2 separate regions of the Homo sapiens genome follow, and region 2 is linked to region 1. The links are contacts of gene promoters, found by promoter capture Hi-C in human tissues and cell types (Jung and others, 2019). All regions are on one chromosome and are shown on one strand. Each heading gives the region's core, a stretch centred on a gene start or on the middle of the fragment in contact. The rest is flanking DNA. Distances are from core to core; before and after follow the strand shown. Region 1 holds the start of CHRDL2 (chordin like 2). Region 2 overlaps RELT (RELT TNF receptor).

Region 1 (5,960 bases), core at 1,431-3,930:
AATTATTTATTCAGTATCTGTGTGTCAAGGACTTTGCTAAATGCTCGAATTACAGATATAAATTTCAAAAGGCACCTGCACTCACAGTGCAGGGTAAAAATGCAAATAAATACTTACACTCCAACAGCTACAATTCAAAGTGCTATGGGAAACACAAAGACTAAACATTGACTTTGCCTGGGGGACTCAGGGAAGACCTTGGAGTGGAGGTGACTCAACTGACCTTTGGAAAGTTAAATGGGATTCACTAGATGGAGGAAGAGAGAGTCCAGGCAGAAGGAAAACATGTGTGAGGATATGGAGGTGCGACGACGCATGGTCAGTTTGGGGAGGTGAGCGGTTGGCCAAAGTGTAGGGTAGGTGGCAATGGTAGATTGGAACTAAAATATGCGTGGTGTTCAATTCAGTGCTGAAAATTTTAGATTTTAACCTATAAATGATAGGAAGTGAATAATAGGTTTTATGTGGGAAAGTGATGTGATCAGATTTGTCAGTAGAAATGATCAGCATAGTTCTCAAGGCAGGTGTGAGGAAAATAGATAGGAGAGATCCAGATTAGGGGGAGGAGACCTGGTAAGAGGCTGTTGGGAAAGTTCAAGTAAGGAATGAAGATGGCCGGGTGCGGTGGCTCATGCTTGTAATCCCAGCACTTTGGGAGGCTGAGGTGAGTGGATCAGCTGAGGTCAGGAGTTCAAGACCAGCTTGGCCAACATGGCGAAACCCCATCTCTACTAAAAATACAAAAATTATAGGTGGTGCATGCCTGTAATCCCAGCTACTCGGGAGGCTGAGGCAGAAGAATCGCTTGAACCCAGAGGCAGAGGTTGCAGTGAGCCCAGATCACGCCACTGCACTCCAGCCTGGGCGACAAGCGCAAAACTCCATCTCAAAAAAAAAAAAAAAAGGAATGAAGTTGGCCTCAACTCTGGGGATAATAGGGATGGACAGGAGGGCTGAGATGGTGGAGGCCTTTTTTGAAGTATGATGGGCAGGATGTAGGGGAACCCATCTTAATCCACTTCTTACATCTAAGACATGAATATATGTGCACAGCACATTTTAAACAAAGAGAAAGGAAAAGATCACTGTCCCAAACCCTTGGGATGAGATTGTTTATGCAATTAAGCAGCACAGGATTTAACTCTGAGATCCCTGGAAGCAAAGGCAAAAAGGGAAGCATGGTGACATGCATAAGCTTGCACTATCTGTTAAAATAAAGAATACTCAGGGGAAAGGAAGAGACTGGCCAGATTAGAGTAGAAATTAAGCCTGAAGGGCACTGGACAGATCATGTTTGTCCCTGATCCTGAGAGCCCTAGGAAGGGCCAGTTTGGGGATCACTGGTTCCTCCTACTGCTCTCTTTTGGAGGGTGGAGATCTTGGGGGTAATACCCTGAAAGCACAGTGCAATGGGGAGCCCAGCCTTGGCCCAGAAAGATACCTTTACAGCCAGCCAGCCAAGTGTTTAAACCCGGAAATATGATTCCCTACCAGAGTGGGATATGGCTCAACATCCCTTCCCACCTCATACTCCTCTGGCACTCTTTGGAGTCTCCATTAGCTCTTCAAGAGAAGCTGGGCAGAAAGTTGAGGTCCAAAGCAAGGATAGATGTATTTACTCAAAGTGGCCCAACAAGTTACGGATGGAGCCAGGACAGTGACTCTGCCCTTTTGATTTCAGAGCTTGTGTGTTTCTGGTCTGGCCAGAGCTGGCTATTCTCTTCTTAGTGTCCTATTAGTGCATGTGTTCATTCAACACAAGAGATGGAGCACCATTTGAGGGCTGGAGGGTGTCAGGGCCCTGTCCTCAGGGAGCTCCCCTTCTGGTGGGAAAGAAAACTCTTTGACAATCAGCTCTCCCTAAAGATGACTGAAGGTGACCATCACTCCCAGAGAAGTGCAGGCCTCACCTGCAAAGGCAAAGGAGAGATCTTGCCTTGATTCGGGAGTGGGAGCGGGGAGCAGAGGAAGACCTCCAGGGGAAGGCACAGGATCCCTATGGGCTGACTTTCCTGAGAATGGCGCATGGGCAGACGGAGTGGGGACAGGGGCCACTGGTATTGTAGGCACCTGGAATTAGGACCCCTTCTCTTTGTGGGGTGAGTGTTTCGACGTTCATTACCTTATTTCATCTTAGCAACACTCGTGGGAAGATAGTAGAGATATTTTAAGATCTTAAAATGCCCATTTTAAAGCTGGGAAAACAGACTCTCCGGTGGCGTGCTGTAGACCACAAACTGAATTAAGAACGCCAGTGTTCTGATTCCATCCATCTGCGGAGTTCCGGGCACGCACCGCCGAGCGCCTTACCCTGAGCCTTCCCGGTACCCGCAGCCCCGACAGCTCAGCCTTCCCCACCTGAAAGTTCCACCTGAGGTCTCCCTCAACTCTGCCCTCCTGCATTCTTGGCGTCGCGGGGAGTCAGGGGTTAAACCCCGTGGCCCGCGTGGCCCCTTCCCCCTCCGCAGCCCCCTCGCCTCCACTCGGCGCCGCGCCTGGAGCGTCCGTCCCGGAGACCCGCACAAGAGAGGAGGGGAAAAAGTGGGCCTGTTTCTCGGGTGGCCAATCCACCGAGCCCGCGGTGCCCCAGAGGAGGCGCCAGCGCTAGGCCAGCGCCAGGCCGGGCTGCCTGCTTCCCGCGGCAAAGTACAAATGCGCCCGAGCGCGGCGCCTGAAGCCCTTGGCGAGCACAGCCGGCCCGCGCTCAGCCTCCCTCCGCGGCCGCCGCGCCGCCGCCGCTGCTGGGACCGCCGCCCCGCCGGGCCCCAGGCCCCCGCGGCCCGACCCCGAGCCCACCGAGCAGGGGGCGCCGGCCGCCTCTAGCCCGCGCGCCCGCAACACCCGCTGGTCCCGCGCGCCTCGCCCGGCGCTGCGCGCTCGGCAGACGCCGGTCCTCTCCCTGCTTTCTCCTCCTCTCCCTCTCACCTTCCCCCTTTCTTTGATCGCCTCTCCCTTCTGCTGGACCTTCCTTCGTCTCTCCATCTCTCCCTCCTTTCCCCGCGTTCTCTTTCCACCTTTCTCTTCTTCCCACCTTAGACCTCCCTTCCTGCCCTCCTTTCCTGCCCACCGCTGCTTCCTGGCCCTTCTCCGACCCCGCTCTAGCAGCAGACCTCCTGGGGTCTGTGGGTTGATCTGTGGCCCCTGTGCCTCCGTGTCCTTTTCGTCTCCCTTCCTCCCGACTCCGCTCCCGGACCAGCGGCCTGACCCTGGGGAAAGGATGGTTCCCGAGGTGAGGGTCCTCTCCTCCTTGCTGGGACTCGCGCTGCTCTGGTTCCCCCTGGACTCCCACGCTCGAGCCCGTAAGTAGACCGGGAGGCTGGGTGGGCAGAGGAGGGATGCGGCCCCTGGAATGTGAGGGACAGCGCCAGGACCTGGACCCCAAGCTCTTCTGACAGCCGTCCAGGCAGCACCTGTGCCGGAGGGGTGGAGACTCCGTGAGGACCAGTATGGGCCGGGGGACCGGAGGAACTCGGCACAACTCAGAACTGAGAGAGGGCTGCTGCCAGGGACCTGAGGAGGGGCACCAAGGGCAGCGGGGGGAGAGGGCAGGGCACTGTGTTTTGGGTTGGGGGAGGACTTACTGTTCCTAGGAGGGAGTCGGGTATGTCTGGCTACAGGTAAGGAGTGTGATGGAGAAGAAAAGGCTTTTTGCCTTTGGAAAGAGCCATTGGACAGAAATGAGAGGTAATTAGGATAACCTTCCCATTCTTTTCTCTCTTTTGATCCTCGCAACTCTCCAGTGAGGTGGGTATTATCATTCGCACTTTACAGATGAGAAAACTTAGGCTGAGCAAGGAGGAACTTGCTAAAACTTACAGAGCGGGTAAGCCATCCAAAGCCAGAACTCTAGTTCCAGATCCCATGCTTTATTCCCTGCCTCACATTGTCTAGAAGGAACCCTGAATTTGCAGTGTGAGACTCTGGGAGGCGGCAGGGCACAGTGAGATAGACCAGCGTCTTCACCATCCCAGCCCCGCTGAATGCCAGCTGCTGGGAGGCCGTCACAGAGTGCACCTCTCTGACCCTGGGTTTCCTAATCTATAAAGCGGAAGTAAAAATCCTAGGAGAGTTGATAGGATTAAATTAGAGAAAAGAGGTAAAGCAGCTAGCACAAGACTGGTGCTTGATAGCTTCCAAAAAAAATCAGTTCCCAATTATGCTTTTCCACATAGATACAGTGTAACATCAAACAGGTTACATCATCAATCTGAGCCTCAGTTTCCTCACTGCGCCCACAATAGGCTGGTGGTCCCCCCTCCCCATGCCCAGCCAATCTCTTAGAATGCTGTGAGGATGGAAAACCAAACCACATTCTCTTAATCAGAAGAAAGGAGCTTCATTCAAGCAGTGGGTTTCTCCAGGACATACATGGCACAGCCTGGGATTAAGACCCTGCGTTCCCAACTCCTAGTCTGGTGCTCTTTCCTCTCCCCAGCTCAGCTCCTCCATCTATGCCTTTCTTTTGCACGTGACATTCTGGAGCTGGTAGTGCTGGACTTTGTTACGGTCTTGTTTCTGCTCATGAGAGCAGGCTGAGTGTCTCTGGCCTGCCAGCAGCATGAGACTCACATAAGTCTTTCCATTACATAGAACAAGTAATGGAATTAGCTCAGTGTTGTATTCAAATCCTGGCCGTGCCCCTTAGAGCTGTGTGACTTTTTGTAAGTCATAACTTCTCTGAGCCTCAATTTCCTAATCTGTCTAAGAGAGATACTAATCCAGAACTTGCAGGGTTCTTGGGAGGATTAAAGGAGGTAACGGATTAAAGTGCCCAGCACAATGCTGTGTACTTAATAAATGTCTCTTCCGCTTTCTTGAACCCTGAGGGTTTCCTCCTAACACCTGCCTCCTATTTCTTAAAAGAGACTTTGCACAGGATGCCCTCCATGCCTGCCTCCCATCCACTTGACACCTTGTTCTTAGTCCCTGCAATTTTTTCTCCAGATATCATTGCCCTTGATGCATCTTGGAAAGATGTCCTAGAACCAGACTGTTATCCTACCCACACCCTGCTTCTTTGCTTCCCATATCTTGTCAGCCTTTCATGGCCTTGCCTAGGTCACACCTCTTCAAGCAAACTCTCCCCGGTGACTTGATCCACTCTGATCTCCCTCGTCTGTGCCTCCCTGGCCTTCAGCTCTGTACCTCTCAGCAGGTCCTGCCAGTATTCCATCTTCCCTACAGCCTTGTAAATACAGATCTCCAGACATGTGAGAAAAAGACTTGGAGCCAACTCATTAGGGTGAGGTGGACTGGCACTCATTGGAGAATGTTAAGATTCCTGGATGTTAGAGCTGGTGAAACTATCAAAAACCATCTGCTTCTACCCATCAATATACCTATACTTAGAGTTAAATTGAAGCCCAGAAGAGAAGAGTGACTTGCCCAAGGTCACACAGCAAATTTATTAAAGAAAAGAACAAAAGCCAGGCACAGTGGTACACACCTGTAGTTCCAGTCACCAGCTACTTGGGAGGCTGAGAGGGAGAGGAACCCTTGAGCTCAGGAGTTCAAGGCTAGCCTGGGGAACATGGTGAGACCTCATCTCTTAAAAAACAACAACAACAACAACAACAAAAAACAGAACAGACCTGGGTCCTGGACCCTGATTTGTCACTTATTGGCTGTGTGAGTTGGGACAGACCACTTCTTTATCTGAGCCTCATTTTGTTTGGTGCTGACAGCCTATGAATCTAGAAAGGATCCTATAGTCATTTGCCAAGATGCTATTTGAAGGTCTCTTACAAAGGTCCTCATCTTAGTTTAAGTGAGATCTCAAGCCTGTTGTGGGTCAGAAATCTGGTGATATCTTAGGTGCTTTCAGAAACAGTGCTAACGGATGGAAATGTTCAAGTCTGTGTGGTATCAGGCTCCTGAGGTGTCGGAGCCCTGAAGAATGCCAAGGGCCTGTGAACACAGGTAACAGTTTGCTCCTCAGGCTATTCAAACAAAAAGTATTC
Region 2 (5,960 bases), core at 1,374-3,873, 1.3 Mb after region 1:
TGTTCTTCAGCCTCTCTCTGAGGCCGTTAGTTTAAATGTGTCCCTCTCTCCCGTCTTTAGACAACATAACAAACAATAAAACCCTAAATTAACTGAAAATTGTCTCTCCCCAGAGCCTGAGGCCCCACCCAGCTATGGCCTGCCAGGCTTCGGCAGGGAGCTGTCTCCCTCAATCCACCTGGCCCTGGCCCTGGTCTCCCCTCTCCCTTTAGGCGAATCCCACCAAGTTCCTGTGCCACTCACCAGGGCACAGAGCAGTCCTCCTCACCCCCCAGCAGCACCTGGCCTTGCAGCCCACCCTGCGCCCACCCCTCCCCTGGCTGCCAGGACACTGCCACGGACGTTGCCCTCCCTGGTTTCTTTCCTGCCTCCCTAGCAGTGCCTTCTCTGTGGTGCCCTGGAGCAGCCCAGGCATCGTCCCCAGGACATTTCCTCCCAGCCCAGTCCTGGCCTAAACACCCACCTGAGTGCCTGTAGGTCTTCTTGTCTCCAGGTCTGTCTCCTGAGAGCTCTGGGCCTTCACATCTGGATGGCATGGGACATCCTCCATGGCTGTGTCACAGGTGCCCCCAGGACTGCTCCTGTTGCCCCACCCAGCTGGCCCTAAGCCCCCGACCCATTTCCCATTACCAAACCCTAGCACAGGGGTGTCCAATCTTTTGGTTTCTCTGGGCCACATTGGAAGAATTTTCTTGGGCCGCATATTAACACTAACAATAGCTGAAGAACTAAAAAGAAAAGAAAAAAGCAAAAACATCTCAATGTTTTAAGAAAGTTTATGAATTTGTGTTAGGCCCCATTCAAAGCCATATCCTGGGCCACATGCGGCCCTTGGGCCGGGTTGGAAGCTTGCCCTAGGAATTTTAGATGGAGACGCTCTGTCTTGCCGGGTGTAGCACCCGCTCCTGTGGCTCCTTTCCTCTCCACACTGGCCAAGCAGGAGCTGAATGCTTTGGAGGCTCCCTGGGCATAAGGCCCAGGTGACCACTATGTGTTGGTGCTCAGCCTTTGCACATGCTGTCCCTCTCTGTGGAACACATTCCCTGGCCCGCACATCTTCCTCACCCCCAATTACCTCCCGGGCTCCACACAGTGCATTTCCTCAGGTGCTGCGCTGACCAGTGTGGTAGCTGCTGGCCACGTGGCTATGGAGCCCTTGAAATATTTGAGTTCCAATCAAGATGTGTAAGATACACTCCAGATTTCAAAGCAAAAGCAAAAACAGCTCATTCACACTTTTTATACTGATTTTATATTGAAATGAAAATATTTTGGATAGACTGGGTTAAAAAAAAATTAAGTTCACCTGCTTCTTTTTACTTTTTGAAATGTGACTGTCAGAAAATTTAAAGTCACATATGTGGCTCACACTATTTCTGTGGGACAGCCCTGCCTCTAGCTAGGGGCTTTGGTGAGAACCAGATGAGTTGATGGGTCTCCTCTGGGCCCTGCTTCCCTGGCTGCTGAGGTGCAGGAACTGTGAGGGGAGGGCAGCCTGTCACGGTGCCCAACACAGGGCAGGGCTGGACAGGTACAAGTGGAACAGGCGGATAAGCTGGGAAGGGCACAGAGAAAAGGAGCTCCTCGTGACAGCACTTTCCCACCTTTTATTATTCAACACATGGAAGGGGGTGGAGACACAAGGATAGGGCAATGGTGAGTTTCAATAAATAAGAGAAACAGGATGGACAGGCAGTGGGCCCATGCCTGCACGGCCCCACATAAATAACCAGGTTGCTGAGCCAGAGTGGAAGTCAGGGCTGGGCCTGGCAGCCGCCTGCACTGCCCAGAAGCACTGGCACCACAGGGACACAGAAACCACTGAGGCCCAAGGTGTGCTCCAGCCCCACCAAGTCTTCTCCCTAAAGCTCCTGAGATCTTGGGGCTGGCTGGGCAGGCTAGGGCTCTGTATCACAGTCCTGCCGGGATCAAGTCTATTTTTTCAGTTTCATTAAAAACAGCTGGGGGAGGGGCAGGCACATGCATTAAGCCCCTTCCGTAGGCAGAGCCATGGATGGACAGCCCCATGGGGGCCTTGAAGGCAGAGGCCCTGGAAGCAGCAAAAACGGGGCTGGATAAAGCTACTAATGGGAGGGATGGTAGAGCCCAGCTCCCCAGTCCCCCACAACCCAGCCCAGAACCTACAAAGAGCTGAAGAGGCCCTGGGTACTGAGACGTCTCTCCTTACTTCACAGTCAGAAAAATGGACCCAGCGATGGCCACAGATGTGCCCAAGATTAGAACCCAGGGACTCACTCTCCTAGCCCAGGACTTTCTGCTACCCCTTCCCTTTATAGACCTGCTGGAAGAGGAGGGGGACGCACATCTGCTCTAGGGCCCTGTACAGAGGCAAGGGTGTGGCTAATTACCAAGGAATGGGGCCAGGGGTGACGGGCACAGGCCCCTCCCCTCTGCCAAGCCCAGCCTCTGATGATACAGAGAATCCCGTGGGCTCCTAGGATCCAGCCAGGGCAGGCACGGGGGTCGGGGCATCCTTCAGGGGAGCAACATGGCAGCAGGGCCAGGGGCGGGGCTCAGCCTGCTCCTGTACACAGTGCCCGCCGGCCACCTGCCTCCTCACTGGGGCAGACGCTCCCACCTCCAGGCCTTGGTCTTTGCTGTCTCGTCTGCTGGGCCATTGCTTCTCGGTCCTCACAGTCCCAGCTGCAGCTCCACCTCCTCCAGGAAGCCTTCGGAACCTCCCAGGGCAGGGCCGCAGTGTCCTTAGACTAGACCGCCCCTCAGATGACCAGGTTGCTCTCACTTAGCCGGACCACATAGCGGTTCTCCTGGTGGGCAGGGGTGAGGGGTCAGAGCTGAGTCAGGGGCTGGCTTCTGGCTCCAGGAAAGTGGCCCCTGCCTAGGGCCCGCTGCACTTCCACCCCTGCCCCGTCTTCGGTCAGGGTTGGCCCAGGTGCCAACAGATGCCTTTCTCCTTGACTCTCACCTCGGCCTTGTTCTCTGCTGGGGGCTTCAGCCACTTTGTACGGCTTCCGCCACTTCCTAGCAGGGCCTGCTGCTCAGGGGGGAGGCCAGGCTGTGGGGAGTCAGGGAGATCACCCCACGAGGGCCCAGCCTCCGTGATGGTCTTCACCTCAGACACCATTGAACTTGTCCGCTGCTCAGGAATTCGAGCCACGCGGAACCTGTGAGGAGAGTGGGGCAATCATCCCCGTTAGCGGGGATCCCGGGGCACAGAGAAGGCAGCACGTGCCCGGGGTCACACAGCAAGTTCATGGACCAGAGCCTTAGCCTGAGAGGCCCGGGTGCCATGGGGGCCAAGATGCTGCCCTAGGGATGCAAGGGCTCCATGTGAGACACAACATAACCGGAAAGTCCTGATCTCTCTGGCCGCCTCCACTGCCCAGAGAGGCCCAATAAGGGCAGGGCTCCCATTGAGCAGGGTGCTCAGGGCCCAAGCTGGGGCCCTGCCTCCCCCTCCCGGCCCCCAGGCTGTCACGTCTTTACCTGCCCCTGCTGCATCTGTGCCCATCTCACCTGCCCACAGACAAGATGGTGATCTCGCCCTGACGCCCTGCCTTGGCCCCGGCCTTGGGAACCCTGGTCGGGTTAGGCAGAAGGCTGGGAACAGGAGTAGTGGCGGCTACAGCCTCAGGGGACAGCAGCACCTCGGGCCACTTCTTCTGGCTACAGCGGGAGCAGCAGGGGCCAGAGAGCGAGGCCAGGCCCTGCACGGTGTGGAGATGGTGGCGGTGCGGGCAGATGTGTGGCACGTTCGGGGGCGCTGGCGGCAGCCTGCAGGGGGCACAGGCAGAAGTGGCCATAGGCCAGGCCAGGGGCAGGAGACCCCAGCAGGGAACAGGGTGACTTGAGGGAGACCCAAGTGGGAGATCCCCAGGAGGCAGGCTGGTTAATGTAGGTTTTGGCCCCGTTATCTCCCACCAGCCCACTCACTTGGACACAGGCCTGTGGCTCGTCTGCACCAGCTGTTTGCTGTGGTACTCTTTCAGCAGCTCCTCCAGGGCCGCAGCATTCTCTGTGGGTAGCTGCAGTCAGACCCTCACTGTGGCCATATGGGACACACCTCCCACCCCCTGCCCCAGCAGAGAACCCCCCACCTACCCTCCATACCACCACTCCCAGCCTGGGCTGTGCGCCTTTTCCTCCCACTTCATCAGGCAAGAATGGGAGGCAGAGGTGTGCACTCCTGGGTCAGAGAGCACCAGGCTGCTTGAGGCACCCTGGCAGGGAAGGCAGAGCAGGGCAAGACTCTGCCCACCGCGGCTGCCTCACAGGCTCCTGGAGGAAACCCTCCTCTCCTGGGCACTGGGATGGGGTCAGACCTTCTCCTCACCTTTCTTCTCTGTGATCAAGCGCACCAGGACCCCAATGGTGTCCTCATTGGCATCCTCAGTCCGGTAGGCAGGGTTGATTCCTGGGGAAGAGAAGGGCCCTGATCCTGGGGAAGAGGGGGAAGCCGCACTCCTGAGCTAAACCATGATCTGCCAGCAGAGGGCAACCCTGGCCTTCTTAAGGGCCCTGAGCATGTGCATTTAGGTGACAAGCCTCCCAGAGCCCTGCAAATGTGGGATCCAGGCTCAGAGAAGCCCATATCACCTTCATGATTCAACACCAGTGCTTCCTGCACCCAACAGCCCGGGTGCATAGAGGCTTCAGGGCCACGTGAACTCCAGTCATTGAATTGGGCGGGCGAGGGGGCGGTGCGTCAGCGTCTTCTGGGTCTGCACTGTCTCCTCCTCAGCCTCAAGGAGCTGTGGGCTGCCACCCTACCCAGAACTCCCCAAATCTACAGCAAACTGCTATTCCATGGCCTCTCTACTGTGCCCTATGTAACAATTTAACTGAGTGCCCCTAGTCAGCTTTGGGCCCAAATCTCAAGGGTGTGAGAATGGGCCACGATGATCAGCCCTGGGCCCAGCAGCAAACAGAGCTCCCAGGACTTGCACCCAGGCAGCATCCAGCAGTTAAAGGGAAGTCTCTAGGAAAACAAGCACAGTCCCAGGCAAAATGGCCCTGAGTCACCACGTTTCCTCCTGCCGGCTTACTGCTCCTGTCCGCTTCCTGCCCCCGCCAGACTTCAGTGTCAGGACTTAGAAGGGTCTCTGGCTCCCATGCCAGCCCCAGACAGCCGAGGGTGCTAGCATGGGAGATGCCATTTCACTCTTGAGGTAGCCACAGGCTCCCATGGGCCCAGGGCAGGGTGTGTGCGAGTGGGCCCCTGCCCTGCAGGGGAGTAGTGGTGTGGGGAAGAAGGAAAGGGGCCCGGGGCCCTGGGGGTGAAGGTGGTGGCGCATGCCTGTCCCTCCGGTTCCAGGCCTTGTAACTCAAACTACAGCCTGGAACCAAAACCCGAGCCCCTTATGGTGCCTGCCCAGGACAGGACAGCTGCCCTGCCAGCCCTCCTGCCACAGGGCACTCCTGCTACTCCAGGCCAGAGGTCAGAGGTCACCTTGAGTAACTCCAAGGCCACCATCCGACCCTGGAACCATACACACAACTGTGGCCTCCAAAGAGTCCAGATCCCCACATCTGGGCAAGGCTTCACCCAGGGTAGGATCCACTGAAGCCACTTGACCAGCTGTGCCACCTCTGCTCTGCCCCCACGGCCACACCTTCGTCCCCTTACCTTTCCTCCCATGTTGTCAGTCTGCAGCTATCACCTCCCAAGCCTCTCCCTCTCAGACCCCAGAGGCCAGGCAGGATTCCGCTGGCAGCCCCCAAGTGGAGCTGGGGCTGGGCTCGTGCCCCCGTCCTTCCCACCTGGACCCCAGCTGGGCCTCACCACTGCCTCCACCTCCAGGGCCGGGCCCGACCTCCTTGTGCGCCGTGCAGTGGTAGCCCTTCCGCTTGAGGAGGTTGCACACCAGGATGCCCAACAGCCCCATGAGGCAGAAGACAGGGACGATGGCGATGACCGCGTACTGGGCGGCTGTCTCCTCTGGGCCACCTGCCCGGGTGCCGTTCCCAGGCTGCCGTGT

Evidence for each region. Contacts are between HindIII fragments. The study calls those that stand out against the background at their distance.
Region 2: a contact is called between a fragment that was not itself captured here and the fragment with the promoter of CHRDL2 in region 1, in 1 of the 25 tissues and cell types used here (small bowel).

What each region holds. Positions count from the first base shown.
Region 1 is chr11:74,728,146-74,734,105 of GRCh38, reverse strand. It overlaps CHRDL2 (chordin like 2), which reads left to right and starts at 2,680. Exons shown (of 11, transcript NM_001278473.3): 1 at 2,680-3,299. The coding sequence starts at 3,218. The HindIII fragment of the contact is 7,141 bases long and covers 121-5,960 here.
Region 2 is chr11:73,392,273-73,398,232 of GRCh38, reverse strand. RELT (RELT TNF receptor) reads right to left here. Exons shown (of 11, transcript NM_152222.2): 6 at 5,765-5,960; 7 at 4,316-4,396; 8 at 3,916-3,997; 9 at 3,499-3,756; 10 at 2,948-3,146; 11 at 759-2,789. The coding sequence ends at 2,742. Among named protein-coding and RNA genes, the nearest start is that of RELT, 19 kb to the right of the region's middle. The HindIII fragment of the contact is 5,281 bases long and covers 1-5,263 here.